Linked DNA regions of Homo sapiens: region 2 is linked to region 1. The links are contacts of gene promoters, found by promoter capture Hi-C in human tissues and cell types (Jung and others, 2019). All regions are on one chromosome and are shown on one strand. Each heading gives the region's core, a stretch centred on a gene start or on the middle of the fragment in contact. The rest is flanking DNA. Distances are from core to core; before and after follow the strand shown. Region 1 holds the start of ZNF43 (zinc finger protein 43). Region 2 overlaps LOC105372323 (a long non-coding RNA gene).

Region 1 (6,402 bases), core at 1,960-4,459:
GTAGCTGGGCCCAGCTCTTAGGTTATGTGATCTCTTTTTTTTTTTTTTTTTTTTTTTTTGCCTGATCTCTGCATACATTTTGTATTGTGATATATATGGCTGGGTCCAACACCTAGGTATTATGAGTCTCCTGAATGGGCTCTGTTCAGAAAGGTATTATGACATATTCTTTTTTCTTCATCACTTAAATGTTGTGACTCTCCTTTTTTGACTAGAACCTGCTACAAAGGATAATTGTGAAATATCACTGGACCCAGCACCTAGGTGATGTGACTCTCCTTTTTGCCTGGGTCTCACATAATTTGGGTATTGTGATATATTGCTGAGACCAACATCTAGGGGGTGGGAAGCTCCTTTCTTGACCCTAACCACAGGAGCTTTGTGACATATCTCTGCATCCATGATCTAAATATGTGATTCTGTGTTTCTGCCTGCACCCTGCTAACAGAGAAGATTACGACAAATTTCTAAGTGCAGTGTATCTTGTTTATCTTGTGCTGACCTCCTATCTCATCCTGTGACTAAGAATGCCTAACCTGGGGAGGCAGCCAAGTAGGTTTCAGCATATTTCACACAGCTGCTATTCAAGATTGAGTTGCTCTGGTTTGAATGCCTCCAACATTAAGATCCACTATAAAATTATGAAAAAAGTCTAGAGTAAATGAGAATTAAATTAGGATGGGCTATTCTACCCTGGGTGCGGTGGCTTACTCCTGTAATCCCAGCACGTTGGGAGGCCAAGGCGGGCGAATCACCTGAGGTCAGGAGTTTGAGACCAGCCTGGCCAACATGGGGAAACCCCGTCTCTACTAAAAATACAAAAATTAGCCAGGTGTGGTAGCGCACATCTGTAATCCCAGCTACTCGGGAGGCTGAGGCAGGGGAATTGCTTGAACCCAGGAGGCGGAGGTTGCAGTGAGCTGAGATTGCACCACTGCACTCCAGCCTGGGTAATAGAGCGAGACTGTATCTCCAAAAAAAAAAAAAAAAATTTAGAATGGGCTATTCTGAAAGATGTAGCAATAATTATATTTGTGTTTATGAGTTTTTTTTATTAACCTCTACACTTGATAATGAAAGAGGTTTCCACTGCTAAAGGAAAATAAATCTCTTGATGCCAAAATTACTAAGCCACTAGAAAAGTCAAGTTGAGAACTATGTCAGGCAAATCTGCCTCCCATTTTATTTCTAAATAAGATAGCTACAAAGATAAAAAAGCTACATACTTTCTTTACAATTAGCCAACAAGGAAATTCCTTGAGAACCAAAGACAGACAGAACTCAGAGTCATTTCTCTGAGCCTCGCCTGAGACAAATGCACATCTGATTGCTTCCTCTGCACTGCTGTTAATTTAGATATGCAGGTTCACTGAGCCAGACTAAATTGTATTCAGTTGAATGCTTATCAAGGACTCAAGAATCCAGACTTTTATCTCTTATTTACTTATGACCTGGAAGCCCTCACCTCAAGTTGTCCTGCATTACTGGATCAAACCAAGAAAGAGAGAGAGGAAGGAGGAGGTGGAGAAGGAAAAAGGTAGGGAAGGAAGATCTTATACATATTGATTGATGTCTCATGCTTTCCTAAAATGTTTAAAAGCTGCTGGGCATGGTGGCTCACACCTGTAATCCCAGCACTTTGGGAGGCTAAGGCGAGCAGTTCACCAGGTCAGGAGACATCCTGGCTAACAGGGTGAAACCCTGTCTCTACTAAAAATACAAAAAATTAGCTGGTATTCATAGAAAATATAATTTTTAATTATCGAGTAATCTGAATAAATGAATATATCATAAAAAAATTAGCTGGGCATGGGGTCATGCACCTGTATCCCCAGCTACTTGGTAGGCTGAGTCAGGAGAATCGCTTGAACCTGGGAGGCGGAGGTTGCAGTGAGCCGAGATTGTGCCACTGCACTCCAGCCTGGTCGACAGAGCAAGACTCCGTCTCAAAAAAAAAAAAAAAAAAAAAAAAAAAGTAAGTGTAGGCAAATGTAGATGCAAATACACATCTGTTTACACAAATTCCTACTTTCAAAATCACAGAGAATGGTCACTTTTTAGCCTTTTTATGAATAAAATCCTGGATTCCATTTATTATTCCATTAGAACTTCTGTACCTATTTTGAAATTTGAGATTAAATTGTCTTTTGCTGAGTTTGCCCAGTTTATATTTCAAGTAATACTATATCATGGGAACACATTAGAGATTTTCTATATTTTTATGTTTTACATCAGTTTCTAAAACCTGGAAATTATCTTGTTTTGAATTTCTTATGAAAATGGAATACTATCCACTAAGAATATTCCATTAGCATACTGCAACTTAAAGTCAGGAGATCTAAACTTTTTCTGGTAACATTACCTATATTTAGTTTTTTAAAAAATGTTCTCTTTTTGTATATGCTTTTTAATTTGCTTTTAAAACATGTGCATAACATTTCCTTGAATTCTATTAATGGACCTCAATGCTTTAAAAAAATTTTTTGATAAAATAATTCAGTCTGAATGTGATGGTTCATGCCTATAATCCCAGTACTTTGGGAGGCTGACTTTGTAGGATTCATTGAGCCCAAGAGTTTGAGACCATTCTGGGCTATCTAGTGAGGCTTCATCTCTACAAATAAAAATATGATAACAAATTAGCTGAGCATGGGGCCACATGCCAGTGGTCCCAGCTACTCAGAAGGCTGAGACAGGTAAATTGCTCAAGCCTAGATTGCTGAGGCTGCAGTGAGCTGCAGTCATGACCCTGCACTCCAGCCTGGGTAACAGAGACTCCCTCTCAAGAATAAGAAAAACCCCACAGAGGATAAATAATAAAATATTCAATGTTTGTAATACTTCCTACTCAAAGGGCCAGAAGCCAGGAAGGTCATAAAAGCTGAAATTCAAAAACAATTGTTTTCATTTTTTAGTATCCATATAGTATATTACTTATAAGTGAAGATGACCTTATACACAAGGTTAAAGGCAAATACCCTCTGGGTTGGGCCTGCTCTGCTCAGGGAGGAAGCCCTGCCTGAAAAGGCGGCAGCCTAGGCTGTCATTCTTTCTTCTTTCAGCCCAGCGTCTGATCACATCTTTCATTCAGGGTTTGCGGGGGCAGGACCTTAGAAGTTATCCAATCAGGGACGCTGGGCTGGAAACCGTCCAATCAGGCACGGGGCAGGAGAGGACAGGGCGGCTTCCGGGATGTGGCGGGGCCTTTGTCTCTGGCTGCAGTTGGAGCTCTGCGTCTCGTCTTCGTTCTTCTGTGTCCTCTGCTGCTAGAGGTCCAGCCTCTGTGGCTCTGTGACCTGCGGGTATTGGGGGATCCACAGCTAAGACGCCAGGACCCCCCGGAAGCCTAGAAATGGTGAGAGTGCCGGTCCGACATCCCGAGAGGGGGAAGGGGCTGTGGCGTGACTCAGGCCTTCCCGCAGTCAGCTCCACAATCTGCGCGTGCCGGAGTTCTTGCCCAGCTCGGCCTCAATCCCCTTCAGCCATAAGATGGCGGCTGCTCTGGGAGGCAGCCCCGGGCGTCCTGTCTCTTCTCTGCGCAGTGACTGTGTCCCGGCCTGCAGCCCTCTGTGGGCAGCTCTGCAGCCGCAACGCGGCGTCTCTCCCAAATTGTGCAGGGGCCACAGGAGGGTCGTCAGGAGAGAATCCTGACTCGTGATGCAGTTTCATGAATAGGAAGAGCTTTGGTCCGTGGCATTTCTAGTCCCTCTTTTGGTCTATTAGAAACAGGAGAGTCGGCCGGGCGCGGTGGGTCACGCCTTTAATCCCAGCACTTTGGGAGGTCGAGGTGGGTGGATGACGAGGTGAGGAGTTCGAGAGCAGCCTGGCTAATATGGTGAACCCCGTCTATACTAAAAATACAAAAATTAGCTGGGCGTGGTGGCGCGCGCCTGTAATCGCAGCTACTAGGGAGGCTGAGACAGGAAAATCGCTTGAACCCAGGAGGCGGAGGATGCAGTGAGCCGAGATCGCGCCATTGCACTCCAGCCTGGGCCACAGAGTGAAACTCCCTCTGGAAAAAAAAAAAAAAAAAAACTAAACTAGATTTTCCTTTATTTCTGACATTCCCAAATGCCACCTTCTTCTCCGCAATTCACGTTATCAACTATTTTTTCTTTTTTTTCTTTTTTTTTTTTTTTTTGAGATGGACTTTCGCTTTTGCTGCCCAGGCTGGAGTGCAATGGTGCTATCTCGGCTCCCTGCAACCTCCGTCTCCCGGATTCAAGCGATTTTCTTGCCTCAGCCTCCTTAGTAGCTGGGATTACAGGTGCCTGCCACCACACCCAGCTAATTTTTTTTGTATTTTTAGTAAAGACGGGATTTCACTATATTGGCCAGGTGGTCTCGAACTCCTGAGCTCAGATGATCCACCCGCCTCAGCCTCCCAAAGTGCTAGGATTACAGCACTTAAAAATAGCCACCGAGCCGGGCTATTTTTTTTTTTTTTTTAGTGTACATTTTAGATACAGAGATACGTTTTAGATAAAGATATTTTAGATATCTGTATATTTTTGATACAGATATTTTAATTATTTTTTGAAAAATCATTGGATGGACTTAAATAAATTTTCCTTTCTTCTTTCCTTCTTCTTTCTTTCCTTCCTTCCTTCCTTCCTTCCATCTTTCCATCCTTGCTTCCATCCTTCCTCTCGCTTTGTTTCCCAGGCTGGAGTGCAATGGTGCAATCTCAGCTCATTGCAACCTCCCGGGTTCAACCGATTCTCCTGCCTCAGCCTCCCGAGTAGCTGGAATTACAGGCACCTGCCACCGTGCCTGGTTAATTTTTTTGTATTTTTAGTTGAGACAGGGTTTCACCTTGTTGGCCAAGCTGGTTTCGAACTCCTGACCTTGTGATCCACCCGCCTTGGCCTCCCAAAGTGCAAGGATTACAGGCGTGAGCCACCGAGTCCGGCCTAAATTTTGTTTTCTATTTGAAAATATTTTCCATATTGAAAAGAAAGCAAAAAATAATCCCCTTACACTGTTTGTAAAAAATAAAAATCTCTGTGCCTCTTTTCCTTTTCTTTTTTTCTTTACTTTTTTTTTTTTTTTTTTGAGACAGTGTTGCTTTGCTGCCCAGTCTGGAGTGCAGTGATGTGATCTCTGCTCACTGCAACCTCTGCCTCCCTGATTCAAGTGATTCTTTTGCTTCAGCCACTCCAGTAGCTGGAACTACCGGCACCTACCACCATTCCCAGCTAATTTTTGTATTTTTGTTAGAGACAAGGTTTTTCCATGTTGACCAGGCTGGTCTCGAACTCCTAACCTCAGATGATCCACCCGCCTCCGCCACCATGCCTGGCCTCTTTTTTCTTTTTGTTTTCCCTAGGCACAGGACTCTTTTTTTTCCCCCGCCCCGCCTTAAGATGGAGTTTAGCTCTTGTTGCCTAGGCTTGACTGCAGTGGAGCCATCTCAGCTCACTGCAACCTCTGCCTCCTGGGTTCAAGCGATTCTGCTGACTCAGCCTCCCGAGTAGCTAGGACTACAGGGATGCACTACCACGCCTGGCTAATTTTGCATTTTTAGTAGAGACAGGGTTTCCCCATGTTGGTCACGCTGTTCTCAAACTGCCGACCTCAGGAGATCCACCTGCCTCGGCCTCCCAAAGTGCTGAGATTATAGGCATGAGCCACCACACCCAGCCAGAGACTTTTTCAGAATGTTTTTAGGTCAAGTTTTTCCTTTCGAAAAATGTGGGTGATTTTTCCTCAGCCACACTTCATTTTGTTGTTTTTGTTTTTTTTTTCTGATCCTGGGTTTCAGTACTGTCTAGGGATAAACCAAGATAACCACCATGGCTATGTGTGCTACAGTGTCACAGCCTGGGTGTAGTGGCTCATGCCTATAATCCCAACACTTTGGGAGGCCGAGGTGGGTGAATCACCTGAGGTCAGGAGTTCAAGACCAGCCTGGCCAACATGGTGAAATCCCGTCTCAACTAAAAATACAAAAAAATTAGCTGGGTGCAGGGGCAGGCGCCTGTAATCCCAGCTACTTCGGGAGGCAGAGGCAGGAGAATCGCTTGAACCTGGGAGGCCGAGGTTGCAGTGAGCTGAGGTCGCGCCATTGTACTCAGCCTGGGCGACAAGAGGGAAACTCTGTTTAAAAAATAAATAAATAAAATAAAATAAAAATTATCATTTACCTTTCTCTTTCCCAGAGTGAGTTTAGGAATCTTCTCAGGTGTCTTTTATTTTATGGCTGGGTGATTTTCAACAGAATTCCAAGGCTTAGCTTTTAGAATGCTACCAAGGAAAAGAATAGGGAAAATCTATTTTATTTGGCTGTACAAAATTAATACATTTTTATAAGAAAACGTGGTATATAAGTGGTGAGTTACACAGATTCATAAAAACATCAGTTACTCTCTTTGCAGGGTAAATTTGTAGAGGTGATTATCT
Region 2 (6,402 bases), core at 2,423-4,922, 230 kb after region 1:
TTAAAGGACTCCAGCTCTTTCTCTTTCTCATACATACAACCGAGTTTCTGTTTACACATTCTTTAATTTCTTTTTATTCCTGTTCCATTCCTCCCTTTGGTGCTTTTTATAACAAAGATGTTAACAGAAAGCACCACTATCTGTCACCTCTTCACAGGGCTGTGCTTCTTCTTCTACTGGCAGTGGCTGATAATCTTGTTAATGCCATCAACTGCACGGTAGTTTTTTTGGTTACTATTGCCTCTATAGTTGACTGAATACTCCTAATAAACAGAGGTAAAAGGCAAGGGAGGATGAGGCAGATGCCAAAAATAAGCAAGAACCCACCAATGAGGGTTTTAATTTTTTTTTTTTTAAGGTTGAGAACCATCCTCCAAACAAGGAATCCAGGGACCACCCAGATCAAGTTTGAACTGGAACATAGGTGAACTCGTGCATTCTAGCTGTGATTTCCATGACAGCTCGGTCATTATCATCAATTTCTAGGCAACAGTTGGTTAAATTAAAATTTTCACATACTCCTCCTTCTGAGGCTAATAGGTAATCTAAACCCAGCCTATTTTGATATATGGCATGCCTCATTTGTGTTGCTTGTATTGCCAATAAATCTAGTGCCCTTGAGGTTTCATTGGTTATAATTTCAAGGACTGCCTGCAACCTTATGATGCGGTTGAGCATATAGATTGGGGTACGGTACCTCCATGACCCATCTTGCGCCTAGGTAGCTGGCCCATAACATTTAATGATTCTTTCAGGAGGCCATTTATTATCTTTCTAGTTTCCTATGTCCACATCTTTTTTGATATTTGTGTCTCTTTTTGTTATTATGCTTCTAGTTGTTTTTTTATTTTTATCATAAACTGGATACCCTAAGAGTTCCTCTTGCTTTAGAGGAATTAGAAAGAATGATGGCTTGATTGTTCCTAACGCACATGCCCCTGTCCATTTAGCTGGCAGTTGCTGATATGCCTGTGCTCCACAGATCCAATATAGGCCAGAGGGTGCCTTTCAAGAATTTGGAGCCTCTAGCTGATGCCAAGTGTGGCTTAGAGTAGAGAATTGAGAGAAAGGGTTTGGATCTCCATAGAGTTTTGTTTTTAGTCTCATCACAATACTGTTGCCCTAGGCAGGTTGTTTCTCACACTGCCTCTGTGAAAGCCTTTCCTCATCGGGTGATACAGTACTTTCCAATTATGGAGGTAGTTGACAACCAAACACTGGCTGAGGCTGTTGGTTCACTGGCAGTGTTAAGTGAAGGGATCTTGTGGCATTAATTCCTTTGCCTCCCATGGCCACTGGTCTTCCATATTAGTTCTTCTACATACATAGCATGAGGAAATTCCTAAGCTGCCAGCTATGTTTTCAGCTAGTTGAGCAAATAAGTTTTTGGTTGATGGGGGGAAGCTTCAGCATTGACTGATCAAAATGCTTATAGAATGACTTATGGACCTGGAATTGTGGGGTTGGATACATTTGAGTCCTTCTAGTCTTTTTGACAATTAGTAGTGGAACTCCAAGTTCTGCTCCTTGTCTATCAACTCATAATAGTGTCATCTGTCCTGTAGACCAAGAAGGTAGCTCTGGCTTTAAGATAGTAAAATTTAAAGGATTGTATGTTCTTGTCTTACAATCTGGTTTGGTTGACATACTAATTAGCAGAGCAGTCCTTCCTGAATGTAAGTGTTGGAGCTGTGTTAGCATAGACCACTGAATGTTCAGTCTCGACATCTGATTTGTGGTTTTCTGTACAGATGTTTAGGACTGTTGCTGCTAAGTCTCTCTTGTGTTAAACTATTGCAGACTGTTTCCGGTTGTATGTGCAGGTTCCTAACTTTGTTCCTGTACATTCATAGTCAGTAACGTACAGTAGAGGTTTAACTAGGGTATTCCTTATCCAGGTAGTGTGTACACAGTGTGGGCATTCTTCTAGGGATTTCTCCCCTTCTAGTATAGGCAGAAATGGTAACAACGTCAGTGTATGTAATAGAAACATGCTTACACTACACATGGGCATGGCAAACCTTCCTCTGGGCATAGACGTTTGCAGTATTTGCAGTAATAACATAACAACAGAACAATCAGTATTGACAGAATTATAACTAGGCTTATAAATTGTATCCACATTTACTTATCCGGAGATTGTCCCCTTAGCTTTGGCTGTGCGTAGACTAGTCAGCTTCCAGGATGTGACTAGAGCAGAGCTTACAGGATCCTCAAGCTTCAGCCGTGCATAGACTGACCAGCCTCCAGTGTGGTCAGAGCAGGGCAGTTGTCCTTCTTACCGGTGGTTGGGTTTCACCATGGGACTATTCGGGTGGGGCAATCTGGGTCTTGTTGGCTAATCCACTGTTCGTCGTTGGGAGTCACTGCTGCCACTGGTTTCAGCCGACTATGGTGAATCCAAGGTGTGAAACGTGCAACTTTAACAGCAGTGGGACTAGGCATGATCACGATATGGGGCCTATCCTATATGGGTCCTAGTGTGGTTGGATTCCATTTTTTTTCCTTTTTTTTTTTTTTTGAGATGGAGTCTCGCTCTGTCGCCGAGGCTGGAGTGCAGTGGCGCAATCTCAGCTCACTGCAAGCTCCACCTCCTGGGTTCACGCCATTCTCCTGCCTCAGACTCCTGAGTAGCTGGGACTACAGGGGCCCGCCATCATGCCGGGCTAATTTTTTGTATTTTTAGTAGAGATGGGTTTTCACCGTGTTAGCCAGGATGGTCTCGATCTCCTGACCATGTGATCCACCTGCCTTGGCCTCCCAAAATGCTTGGATTACAGGCGTGAGCCACCACACCCTGCCTCCATTTTTTAACTTAAACAAAATCCTTAGGTTTGAAAGGGTGTACTGGGTCTGTTTGACTTATAGGCATTTTTTTTCTATACCTAGCCATGCATTTTTGCATGGCCATACTTAAAGCCTGAATTTGCCTTCTTAAAGTTAGTTCTTCTAGTTTACAGAGATTACCTTTAATCTGACTTATGATGGGGGGTGGCTGGCTGAATAAAATCTTACAGGGCGAATACCCAGTTGTTTGGTGGGAGTGCACCTGACTCGGAGGAGGACAACAGACAAGACCTGATCCTACTTTTGATGAGTTTGACAAAATTTCTTCAGCAGCTGTTTGAGTGTCTGGTTTATGCACTCCACTTTACCTGAGCTCTGCGGCCTGTAGGCTGTATGTAATTTCCACTTTATTTTAATAGTCAAGTAAAGTCCTGAACTATTTCAGCCACAAATGTTGGTCCATTGTTTGATCTTAGAGTTAGAGACAGTCCAAATCTGGGAATAATGTCTTTTAACAACACCTTGGTCACCTCTAGTGCCTTCCCTGTCTGGGTGAGGAAGGCCTTGACTTATCCTGAAAAGGTGCAAATGAACACCAACATGTACTGATAGCCCTCCCTCTCAGGGCAATTAGGTGAAGTCTATAAGCAGTTTTTCACAGGGCACGGCTCCCTGGCTCCTGTTTCCTGAACTCCCAGGGGCGGAGTAGGCCCTCCTTGTCATGGATTGTTCTGAGTGCAAGTTAAACACTGTTTGTTTACAAATGGCTTGAGTAATAGCAGTGAGCCATGGTGCATAGAAATGATGCCTTAATAATGTCTTTAGTGCTGTTTTTTTTTTTTTATGTGAGTTCTTTGGTGGAATTGTTTTACAAATCTGGAGGTCACCATTTCTGGTATGGCTAGCCTCCCACTGGAGAATTTTTACCATCTTCCTTTAGTGTAGTTCTTATTTTTCTGGGCAAAACAAGCCCTTTCACTTGGAGCATAGCTTGGGATCTCCGGGAGGGGAATCTCTGGGAAGAGAAGCATAGCTAAGACTTCCTCTTTAGAAGGTGGAGTTGTCATTGCAGCCTGCTTTGCCTCTTTGTCTGCTTTTTTATTTTTATTTTTTTAGCCTTTAGTGTTCTTCCTTTTTTGGTTCCCCTTGCAGTGCATCACTGCCACCTCTTTTGGGTCCTATACAGCATTTAAGAGCTGTAGAATTTCTTCCTTGTACTTTATTTCTTTACTTTCAGCAGTTAAAAGTCTTTTTTCTTTGTAAATCACCTCATGAACATGCAAAGTGGCAGAAGCATATTTGGAATCTGTGTAAATATTTGTCTTTTGGTCTTTTGCTAGCCAGAGAGCTCTTGTCAGAGATATTAGCTCTGCTTTCTAAGCAGAAGTTTCTGTAGGCAGAGACTGCACCTCTACTACTGAGTCCAAAGTCACCACTGCATACCCAGCTCGGCAGACTCCCTTTAGTGATTTTAGTGAAAATCACTGATTTTCAGCAGCCTCAGGGTTAAATGGAGTGCACAATCAAAATGCCTTACAAAGTCTTTCATAAAACTTTAGTATGAAACTGCTTCCATCAGTAAAATATTTAATGTCCAGTTTCCCTGAGGGGCTATCAAATCTCTCTGGCTTGAGAAAACTTCATCTATCATGTTGACACAGAAATGAAAGGGGTCTCCTGGCACTGACTTGATGAGGAGCAATGTAGCCAGGTTTAGGCTATTCACAGTCTCTAAAGTCAGTTTATTAGCTTCTTGCACCAGTAGGGCAGTGGCAGCTAGTGCTTTAATAGCTTTAAAACAAAGAGGCCATCCAAGTGCCACAAAGTCTAATTGCCTGGATAAGTATGTCACTGGGTGATGCCATAAACTTATGGCTTGAGTTAGAACCCTTATGGCCTCCCTTTCACTTGTGGACATACAAGAAGATAGGCTTAGTTAGTTTATCCGGCAGTCCTAAAGCTGGGGCCTGAGTCAAGCTTTTTTGATTTCTTTAAACCCCTTCTCCTGGGAGCGTCTCTGCCCGGCCGCCATCCCATCTAGGAAGTGAGGAGCGTCTCTGCCCGGCCCCCCATCGTCTGAGATGTGGGGAGCGCCTCTGCCCCGCCGCCCCGTCTGGGAGGTGAGGAGCGTCTCTGCCCGGCCGCCCCGTCTGAGAAGTGAGGAGCCCCTCCGCCCGGCAGCCGCCCCGTCTGAGAGGTGAGGAGCCCCTCCGCCTGGCAGCCGCCCGGTCTGGGAAGTGAGGAGCGTCTCCGCCCGGCAGCCACCCCATCCGGGAGGGAGGTAGGGGTCAGCCCCCCGCCCGGCCAGCCGCCCCATCTGGGAGGGAGGTGGGGGGTCAGCCCCCGCCCGGCCAGCCGCCCCGTCTGGTAGGTGGGGGGTGCCTCTGCCCGGCCGCCTCTACTGGGAAGTGAGGAGCCCCTCTGCCCGGCCACCACCCCGTCTGGGAGGTGTACCCAACAGCTCATTGAGAACGGGCCATGATGACAATGGCGGTTTTGTGGAATAGAAAAGGGGGAAAGGTGGGGAAAAGATTGAGAAATCGGATGGTTGCTGTGTCTGTGTAGAAAGTAGTAGACATGGGAGACTTTTCATTTTGTTCTGTACTAAGAAAAATTCTTCTGCCTTGGGATGCTGTTGATCTATGACCTTACCCCTAACCCTGTGCTCTCTGAAACATGTGCTGTGTCCACTCAGGGTTAAATGGATTAAGGGTGGTGCAAGATGTGCTTTGTTAAACAGATGCTTGAAGGCAGCATGCTCGTTAAGAGTCATCACCACTCCCTAATCTCAAGTACCCAGGGACACAAACACTGCGGAAGGCCGCAGGGTCCTCTGCCTAGGAAAACCAGAGACCTTTGTTCACTTGTTTATCTGCTGGCCTTCCCTCCACTATTGTCCTATGACCCTGCCAAATCCCCCTCTGCGAGAAACACCCAAGAATGATCAATTTAAAAAAAAAAAAAAAAAAAAGATAAGCTCCATGGCATCTGCCATGAAAGGCTCTGGCATCTGCCACGAAAGGCTCTACCCACATCAAAGGTGTTCCTTGCAAGACCACTGGACTGCCTGGCCCAGACCAGGAGATTCTTTTTGTCTCTGTTGCTCTTCATGGACTGGTTCATTAACCTTTTTTTCCCATTTCTTTTCTCTTGATGTTAAATGTTATTTTGTTTGTTGTAGATGTTTAACCCATAACATTTATATATTGATTAGGTGTACTATTATGTATAATTTGCAATATAGAGTGACTTGTGGAGTGGCTTCAAAAAAAAATAAATAAATAAAAGCCTTCTCCTGGTTGGCCTCCTAGAGGAGAGGCTCTTTCTTTCCTCCTCTTTGTGGCTTTGTATAATGGCTTAGCCATGAGCAAGAAATTTGGGATCTAAATGTGGCAGAACCTTGCTGCCCTTAGGAACTCTCTTATTTGACACCAGGTTGTTGGAGTAGGAAGTACACAAACAGCCTGCTTTTGTTTACTACTAAGCCATCTTTCCTCTTGGTTTATATAAAAGCTTAAATACTGGACACTTTTAGAGCAGATTTGAGCTGTTTTCTGATACTTTATATCCTGCCTTTCACAGCAGGTGCAGGGGGTCTTGGGTTTTTCCTGGGTG

The links. Contacts are between HindIII fragments. The study calls those that stand out against the background at their distance.
Region 2: a contact is called between a fragment that was not itself captured here and the fragment with the promoter of ZNF43 in region 1, in 1 of the 25 tissues and cell types used here (pancreas).

What each region holds. Positions count from the first base shown.
Region 1 is chr19:21,832,989-21,839,390 of GRCh38, reverse strand. ZNF43 (zinc finger protein 43) reads left to right here and starts at 3,209. Exons shown (of 4, transcript NM_003423.4): 1 at 3,209-3,355. The coding sequence starts at 3,353. RefSeq lists enhancers at 2,172-3,144, 3,256-3,415, 3,436-3,485, 3,526-3,615, 3,145-4,118. The HindIII fragment of the contact is 27,139 bases long and covers 1-6,402 here.
Region 2 is chr19:21,605,871-21,612,272 of GRCh38, reverse strand. The region is part of intron 3 of LOC105372323 (a long non-coding RNA gene); the gene reads right to left. Among named protein-coding and RNA genes, the nearest start is that of ZNF429, 100 kb to the right of the region's middle. The HindIII fragment of the contact is 3,721 bases long and covers 1,812-5,532 here.